Linked DNA regions of Homo sapiens: region 2 is linked to region 1. The links are contacts of gene promoters, found by promoter capture Hi-C in blood cells and fetal thymus (Javierre and others, 2016). All regions are on one chromosome and are shown on one strand. Each heading gives the region's core, a stretch centred on a gene start or on the middle of the fragment in contact. The rest is flanking DNA. Distances are from core to core; before and after follow the strand shown.

Region 1 (4,507 bases), core at 1,730-4,229:
ATGTAATAAGCGTTTAGTGTTAGTAATAGTGTGTTACTAAAATGAAGATTCAAGCTGACAGCAGGGGAGGTGGATTCCAAAAATCACAGTTAATTACCAAAGCCGCTAAGCCAAGTTATTCAAATGTCTTATTACCAAGGTATAGCCATAAAACTTACTGCTCCAGGCTATAATACCTTCAAACTCTTCAAGTTTTAAAGACACATTATACATAGGATTCTGCCAACTGGAGGCTATCTACCAACTTGTGAGTTGTTTCATCATGAAGGAGGCAAATGGTAGGTCACGAGACTCTGGGTCTCATTGAGAAGTATAAAAACTTACCAAGCAGTGAAGGGTATTGGAGAGAGAAAAACAGGATTTTAAAATGAAGATTCCAAACCACTGCCTACCAATCTGGCACGGCAAGTCGGGCAAATACACACTCAACGACAGTCACTGGGGTCGGAGTAAAAAGAAATGGATTTAAATTAAAGATGGAAAGACTTAAATCAGACTTAAAGAAAAGCCTCTTGATGTAAATTGCTAAGCACCTACGGGAGATAACCAAATCTACCTGTTACCACTAATCTATCAACTAACAAGACAAAGCCTCCAGCTAGGCGTTACTGTGCTGATATATATTAGGAAATAAGTACCCAAGGCATAGAAAAATCGCTGACACAGAGAACCAAGCCATAATGTAATATTAATAAAAGTAAACATTTGACCCTTTACCACCTCTAACACGTGGCACCACCAGGAATATTCATCCATGCCTCACCATTCAGGGAAGGTAAGTGAGCTCACTCAGGAAGTGCCACCGTCTTCCAGGTCACTGGTAAGGACAAACTGCCTGCTGCGTCTACCTTCATTCAACAGACCTCGACCGAATCGCATCCCAAAGCCGGCTATGTGCTTGGAACTTACTGAGCAGCTATGGAGTTTGGCTTTCAGGAACTCTGGGTCCAGTCCTTAAAACCAAAAGTGCAATACAGGGCGATGAGAACTTCTATTGCTACATTCTCCTAGCAATAAAGAAGACAAAGCCCCAGCTGACTCTATTATTTGCTTCTTAACAGTGCTTTACTATAGTATTAAAGGGTTTTCAAACACTTCATTTCCAGCTTCTCTTAAGCATAATGCGTGCCTATTGACTCTCGACTGTGCCATCAAACGTTAAAACAGAACCTGTCGTTTCATTTCTAGCTTTCTATGGCTACCTCTATCAAAAGTTGGGCATGGAGATACCTTAAGTCTGGCTGGGGCGGTTGCTCACGCCTGTAATCCCAGCTCTTTGGGAGGCCGAGGGGGGCGGATCACCTGAGGTCGGCAGTTCGAGACCAGCCTGGCCAACATGGTGAAACCCCCGGTCTCTAATAAAAATACAAAAATTAGCTGAGTGTGGTGGCTCATGCCTGTAATCCCAGCTACTCGGGAGGCTGGGGCACAAGAATCGCTTTAACAGAGGAGGCAGAGATTGCAGTGATCGGAGATCGCGCAACTACACTCCAGCCTGGGCGACAGAGTGAGACTCTGTCTCGAAATAAAAGAGATACTTCAGTCTGACATACCACAATCAACTACAATGTAATTGGAGGGAAGAGCCGATGTTGGACGGCTATCACACGTGGCTTCACACTGTTCTTTTTCTTCTCTGGCTGGGTACGGCCTGAGGATGACTGCCCTCCAACAACTGAGGATGCTGCAGGAGGACCAGCCCAGCACCTGTCTCCATCCCCTGCACTGTGTGGCCGGCTCTGCCGCTTCTCCCCCGCTTCAGCATCACCTGCCACTTCTTCTCAATCTGAAGCCACTAAGAACGATCAACACCAGACCGTTAAAACATAAACCAGTATGGGCCACTAAATAATTCGTAAATATTTCAAAATGTATTTCAAAACCGACTTTGTATTGTCAAAACATTATAATCTAGCCAGGCCAAGTTTTAATAAACAGTAACACCCATCATCACTACTGGGTAAAGAACTTCATTCAACAGGACCTACCTTGACACCAAGTCTAGAGCCTCGTTTTCAATTAAAAAAAAAATGGGTAAGCCCCAAATGTGCATTAAAAATTAGTTTGGCCATTTACTAAGTAGTCCTTCAAAGCATTTCCAAGTATTCAGAGTTCCAGTACTTTTCGGAAAGGAAGGGTGATCTTTCTGGTACTGGTTTGCATAATTATGCCTAAAAAATGTCATCTTGAATTTTCAATGAAAAGAGTCTTAAAATGTTCAGGCGAGTGGAGAAAATGGTGATCCGCTGGCGTTAGAAGTGGACAGAGAGGCTCTCAGTACAAACTGTATCTGAACGTGTTCCTCACAAATTAAGATCTGCACCGGGGGCTGGGGGGCTTTGAGAAAACTAACCACATTTGAATCCGGTCCACACAGCTTGAAGGCGGAGGTACGGGGCAAAGCGCGGCGGGGAAGAAACACCAGCAACTCGGCGGCCCCCGCCTCGCCGCAGATCACGTGCCCGGCGCCCCCTCCCGCAGGGCCGGGGGCGGGATGGAGACGCGGCCTCCCGCGCGCCTTCCGCACTCCCCTCCGCGCCCCAAACCCAGGGGTAGGGGTGGTCTCGGGTAACCATCCCCAGGGCGGCGGCGAGGGAACTGCGCGGGTTCAGAGTCCTCAGCAGCCACCACTGACGCCCCGACGCCCCCGGCTCCCCGCGCACCCCGCCGGTCCGTCCTGCGGCGGCGGCGGTAGGGGCCGCGTCTACGTGGCGCGGTCGCGGCGAGGCGGGGACTGGGACGCGAGGACCGGGAAGCGGGGACCGCGGCGCGAGGAGGGGCGGCTCAACCCGCGCCGCCCCGGAGGGTCCCGGCCTCCGGCAGGACAGCCCCGGGCCCGCGCCAAGGGAAGCCCCCAGGCGCAGACACTCACCGCCAGCCCCGGAGGGACGCCTGCGAGGAGCCCGGCCCGCGCCCACTTACCCACAGGGGCTCCGCTCCCGGCCAGCGGGCGGCTGAGGGCAGGCGGCGGCTGGACTGCGACGGCTAGGACCCGCCGGGGAGGGAAGCCGAGGGGGCGGGGCCGGTCGGGGGCGCGCGCGGGGTCGGAGCGCCCGCAGCCGCCGCTGCCTTGGAAGCCGCCTGGGCCGCAGCTGAGTCGGGCGGCCCTCATGAATGGGACGCCGCGGCTGCGGCGGCCGAGCCGGCAGCTGGCGGGCGGGCAGCGCGCAGGCCCCGCCCCAGCCACGTGACGCGCGCTCCCGGCCGCGCGCCGCGCCCCCGCCGCCGAGCGCCAGGCGTGCGGCTTCTCACCGCTCCCAGTCCCTGGGCTGCGCGCCCGGGCCCCTGGCCAAGTGAGGGCGGGGCCTCGATTTTCTAGTGCCTCGGGCGACAGGAGCCTTACTTTGTTTTAAAAAAAAAAAGTTTCTTCCGGTCCCCATGGCAACCCTGCGGCAGGTCACGTGGGACTGAGAGCCCAATTGCCAAAAAGGAATGTTAAAGTGCAAAAAAAGTCTAGGGAATGAATGTTTTATAATCCCCTTTTGATCACTAGTAGCACATCTCCTTTGCTTACTTACATCTCCACCGAAAAAAAAAAAATCCTATTACACAACTCATTTTTAAAAATATGCCGGGGTTCTGTTGTTTTTTGTTTATTCTTTTTATCGCTCTGTTACCCCGGCTGGTCTCCAACTCCTGGGCTCAAGCATCCCCGCACCTCGGCCTCCCAAAGTACTGGAATTACAGGCATGAGCCACCGTCCCCAGCATTAAAATATACTTTTTAAGAAATGGGTGGCTCACGCCTGTAATCCTAGCACTTTGGAAGGCCGAGGCAGGCGGATCACTTGAGGTCAGGAGTTCAAGACCAGCCTGGCCAACATGGTGAAACCCCCGTCTCTACTAAAAATACAAAAAACCAGCCGGGCGTGGTGGCGCGTGCCTGTAATCCCAGCTTCTCAGGAGGCTGAGGCAGGAGAATCAGTTGAACCCGGGAGGCGGAGATTGCAGTGAGCCGAGATGGCGCTATTGCACTCCAGCCTGGCGACAGAGAGACTCCGTCTCAGAAAGAAAAGAAATGGGGCCCGGCGCGGTGGCTCACGCCGGTAATCCCAGCACTTTGGGAGGCCAAGGCGGGTCGATCGCCTGAGGTCAGGAGTTGGAGACTAGCCTGGCCAACGTGGCAAAACCCCGCCTCTACTAAAAATACAAAAATTAGCCGGGCATGTTGGCTGCAATCCCAGCTACTTAGGAGGCAGAGGCGGTAGAATCACTTGAACCCGGGGGGCGGAGGTTGCAGTGAGCAGAGATTGCGCCACTTCACTCCAGCCTGGGAGCGAAACTCTGTCTCAAAAAAAAAAAAAACAAAAAAAACTGGATTGCTGGTGCTATATACTATTGGTGCACACTGGTTTTTAATTTGCAGCCTATTCTATTACTATTCTATGATTGAAAGTAATGAACAGAAGCCTATGTTACTTCTATATAAATGGCAGTTAATTTATGAGGTGCATCTTGTGTGTGATCATTTATACAGTTCTAAGGGTACTGAAATAGGCATTTGCATA
Region 2 (4,557 bases), core at 1,612-4,111, 2.3 Mb after region 1:
GCGCGCAGGCCGGGCGCTGAGGCTGCGGGGCTCTGCCGCGTCTCGGAGCGGGCGCCCCGGCCACTTTCGCCCTCCGCGCACACCGGCCGACACCGGGAGGCGCGCCCACGGGTCTGCGGTCTTGCCTCTTGCCGCCGGCACATTGAGTTTGTGGGGGAGTGGACGGTGCACAATAAACACTTGCAGAACAAATGGAAAAAGCGACGTCTTCGATTTGTAGTGTAAAGCGCAACCCCAGTTGCCCAGCAGAAAGGGATCACCCATAGGGCTTCGGAGCTAGTAGGTCCGCGCCCGGACACTCCAAGGAAAAGTCCAGGGGCTGGAGGCGGCGACCCGTCTGTGGCAGTCCAGACCCTGGACTCGATTCGGAGAGCTCTGATAACTTGGCTCTGTCCTTAACATCCCTGCTCAGCGCCAGTAATGGCTCCGTTGCTGTTGAACCACGTCGCCTTCCCTCTGACGCGGCGGCTGTGCCTGTGTCTGGCGTCGGGAGCTGGGAAGTCCCTCCCGCTCCCGCGTTTTCTGCTCACCGAGATGCAGGAGGCCGGACAGCAATGCCGCGCCGCCTTAGAGTCGCTCATGTTGCTTTACCTCACACGCGAAGTTTCCCCGAAACGCGTAATTTAATATCTAAAGATTAGAGCAGAAGCTTCCTCTTGGGCTTATTGAAGATGACATAAGATAGTGCTTGCAACAGGCACCTAAGTAAACATTTGGGAAATAATATGATGATTGGATGTGTTAATTTTCTAAAGGAAGTTCTATATGGCCTCAGTTGATTTTGTAATGTTAATTGACTTTGGTTTAACGTTCCCCAAGGCGACTTTATACGCATCTTTTTTGATGTTCACAAAAGCACCCAAGTTACGGCTTATATGGAGGAAATAGGATGGAAGAGACCGGTTGTAGAGTCAGACATATCCAGTTCACATATTGGGTAAATTGTTTAACTTCTCTAAACCTCAGCTGAAGGAGAGCTATGGAAAGCACCTAATAAGGCACTTGTAAGGATTAAGTGAAATAATGCCCAGCTAAGGTATTAGCTCCATGATGGAAAATCACCTGCACCCACAGATAGTGGGTTCCAGTGGCCTGGACAGAACCAGAACCAAGTCTTCTGCCACGAAAGTTCACACTCATCAGACATGATACCGTGTACTCGCTTTATTCTTGTTTGCGTAGCTCTTGAAGTTGCATTTCAATCCTGTGGATGCTGTGTGTTTATAGGGGGATAATAATAGTACTCTGTCATAGGGTTGCGTCACCAAGCAGTAAAGCAGCCACTGCAGTTAGCACAATGTGTGGACACGGCCAGTACTCAAGTCATGGCGCATCTGCTGCTGGCGCTCCCCCTTCTCCCATACCACATATGGGGTTTCCCACTCATTCTGCGTGTATTTTTGGTCTGCCTACTGTGTAAAGACAATCTTTTCGCATATGGCTAGGAAAAGACTTCCCACGTTTCCACTAACCCGATAACATAATTCACAAGAGTTCTAAAGCACTAGAATGCATTTCTCAAGTGACGGTTCCTGACATCCTGGTTTTGTATCAATGAATCCTCTTGTCTCATTTGTTTTATGTTCATGTCACCTGGGCTCTGCCTGGCTGTCCCTTGCTGGTTCACAGGGGTTGTGGGGATGAGTCTAAATTAAAGGGACAACTCTGTGGGAAGGTGGAGGGATGGGAAACCACAAAGGAAAGGCCTGACCCAAGCCTGGCTTCTCGCCTGTGTCGCCACCCAAAAGTGCACTTCCCAGCACCCAAGAGGCTTTCAATAAACATCAGCGGACAGTAAGTGACAACCTTGAATTTGATACTAAGGGGCTTTGTAAAAGTACACTGTGGCGTCAACGCGGGGGCAGGGCTTTCCTGAAATGCACTGACCCAAGGTCCTTGACAAAGTTTTCCTCCTTTTCCGACAACTCTGATGGGTGACATTTGGAGCACGTTGTTCCTCACTTGGGACACCCATGGCCTCCTGAGTGGAACCTGTTTCTAAGAATTGTGAGGCCCAGGCCATGGGGCCCGCAGTGTGCAGTCCCGGGTGCCAGGGTCTGATGTGGTTACAGAGCAGCCCAGTAAGGGACCGTTTGGAAACATTATGTCTCACAGGCGGGGGAGGTTGATTTCTCCCTCATGTTGACCTTGGGCCCTCTGGCTGGTTTTGAAACAGCAGGATACCAGCAGATGAGAGTGGGCCGGGTCTGAGTAGAGGTTTTGAGAGCAGCCTTTGTTCTGCGCCTCCTCCTCTGCTGTGACGTCCAGCACAACACGACCATGGTTAGGCCACAACCCCCTCTTCAGCTTGGGCCCTTGAATGACAAACAGACCTGAGAATGAAGCCAACCCAAAACCTGAGCACAGCCAAGCCTAGAGAGAAGACAACTCACCCACAGACCTATGACTGAGAAGTAAATGTTTGTTTTATAAGCCACTGGGAGGTTGGGTTTTATGCTTTGTTACTGAACAAAATCTAATACATCTGTGCAAGGAAAAGTGTCACACCCAATGCCATAACCACCTTCCCCCTGTGACTCTGAGAACACTTGATACAGCAAATGAACAAAAACCCGATCCAATCCGTGTCATCATGGAGATACTGATGTGCACATTCAACAAATAATCACATCGTTACACAATTGCACATTGCAATAAGTGTTTTTATAGAAAGTTAAAAAACACAGAATGTGATGAAAAAGAGGAACAGGAGGAATTAATTTTGCCTGGGAAATCAGTGAAAGCTTCTTCAAAGGCATACATTTAAGACCTGAAAGATGAGGGAGAGATTCGCAAAGAGGGGGAAGAAATAGCATTTCAAGACAGAGACAGGAACAAAGTGAATGCAAGGGTGGAAGGAGCTTGAAGTACCTCAGTCTCTGCAAAAGTGGACATGAGATGTGTTTGTGAGAACAACAGTGTCCAGCACCTGTAGGGCCTTGTGGTTTATAGGAAGGGGTCTTCACAATGACAGCCCCGAAAGCTTGGGCCATTTAGGTGGAGGGGTTGAATCAAAGGAAGGTCCTGAACATCTGCCAGGGCAAGGAACATCAGGACAAGCTTGTCTTGTGCTTGTGGAGGAATTGCTGCATGAGGATGGAGTTGGCCATGTGGAACGATCATTCTCCTATGGATCAGAACTGGTGGGGCATCTGGTCGTCTCTGGGCACCAGACACTTGTTTCTTCTTCCTCTGGAACCTGGTCATTTAGATTTCCTCATTGCCTTTTGGGTTAACATCGAGGAAACTGGGTGAAGAGTTTCTGGAAACACTCTGTGTTATCTTGACAACTCTTCCATAAATCCAATATTATTGTAAAACGAAAATTATTCCTGTTCATGTAATTATTTTTTCCTAGATACTTTCAAGATTTTTTTCTTTGTCTTTAGTTTTCAGCATTTTGATTATGGTGTTTTCTGAGTAGGGATTTCATTGCTTATACTGTTTGGGGATTGCCGAGCTTCTTAAATACATAGGTTTATTTATATCTTTCTCTAAATTTGGGAAGCTTTCAGCTATTATTTTTTTCACATTTTTTTTCAACAGCATACTATTTCTCCTTTGTTGAGATTCCAATGACAGGAACGTTGAGTTTTTTAAAAATTATGTCATAGGACCATAAGTCTTTTCATTTTTTAAAATATTTTCTCTGTGTTGTTCAGATGAAATAGTCTCTATTGATTCTCTACAATTCACTGACTTGTTCTTTTGTCGTTTCCACCCTGCCATTTAGCCTGTCCAGTGAGTTTTTTTGTTTCACTTGTATTTTTCAGTTTTAAATTTTTTCATTGTATTTTTCTTTATATCTTCTATTTCTTTGCTAAGACTTCCTATTTTTCGATTTAAGAGTGTTCATAATTGCTTGTTGGAGAATTTATAATAGTTGCCTCTAAGTCTTTTTACTTAATTCCAACATCATTGTCATCTCAATGTTGCCATCTGTTGATTGTTTTTTCATACGTGAGTTGAGATTTCCTGGGTCTTTGTATGCTGAATTATTTTGGATTGCATCTTGAACATTTTAAATATTATGTTATAATACCCTGGGTCTTGTTTAAATCCTGTGGCAAATGTTGATATTTTAATTTTAATAGACAATCGGGTTACGTTCTGGTGACCAGTTTTAACACACTTTCTGTGTGCTGTGGTTTGATGGTTTCGGACTGCTACTTGGATCTGTTTCATATGCTCCAGGCATTGGCCAGTCTAGGATCTGATGATCTGTTAGTTCAATTCTCAAAGTCTTTTATGTGCTGACTAGGCTCAGACCCAGCATGTGCAGCTCAAGGGGGAGCTTAGAGGTTCATAAACAACTTTAGGGGCTCACTTTCCTGGGCTCATTCCTCTTCTGATTTCCCTGGTACTTTCTACCTTCCTGGAACTCCCTTTTCTGATCCTACATCCAGAAAGTTGGGGCACTTCCATGGCTACACTCTAATCTACAGCCAAGTGGCAGAAGAACGAGAAGGAAAAAAAATGGTAAATTCCCTGCTGGCTTGGTGATAAGCTTTCTTGTTTCCTGACATGTTGATTTTAAAGAGCTGTAAATTTCCTTCT

What was found. The method cuts DNA at HindIII sites, captures the fragments that hold promoters and counts their contacts. A CHiCAGO score of 5 or more calls a contact.
Region 2: a fragment that was not itself captured here is called in contact with the fragment with the promoter of LPIN2 in region 1 in 1 of 17 cell types (total B cells); the score reaches 6.0 in total B cells.

Annotation. Positions count from the first base shown.
Region 1 is chr18:3,010,165-3,014,671 of GRCh38, forward strand. It overlaps LPIN2 (lipin 2), which reads right to left and starts at 2,980. Exons shown (of 20, transcript NM_001375808.2): 1 at 2,923-2,980. RefSeq lists a silencer at 2,421-3,370. The HindIII fragment of the contact is 8,581 bases long and covers 1-4,507 here.
Region 2 is chr18:5,296,482-5,301,038 of GRCh38, forward strand. It overlaps a transcript of ZBTB14 not described here. Among named protein-coding and RNA genes, the nearest start is that of ZBTB14, 3.0 kb to the left of the region's middle. RefSeq lists a silencer at 1-83 and enhancers at 1-576, 294-453. The HindIII fragment of the contact is 239 bases long and covers 2,743-2,981 here.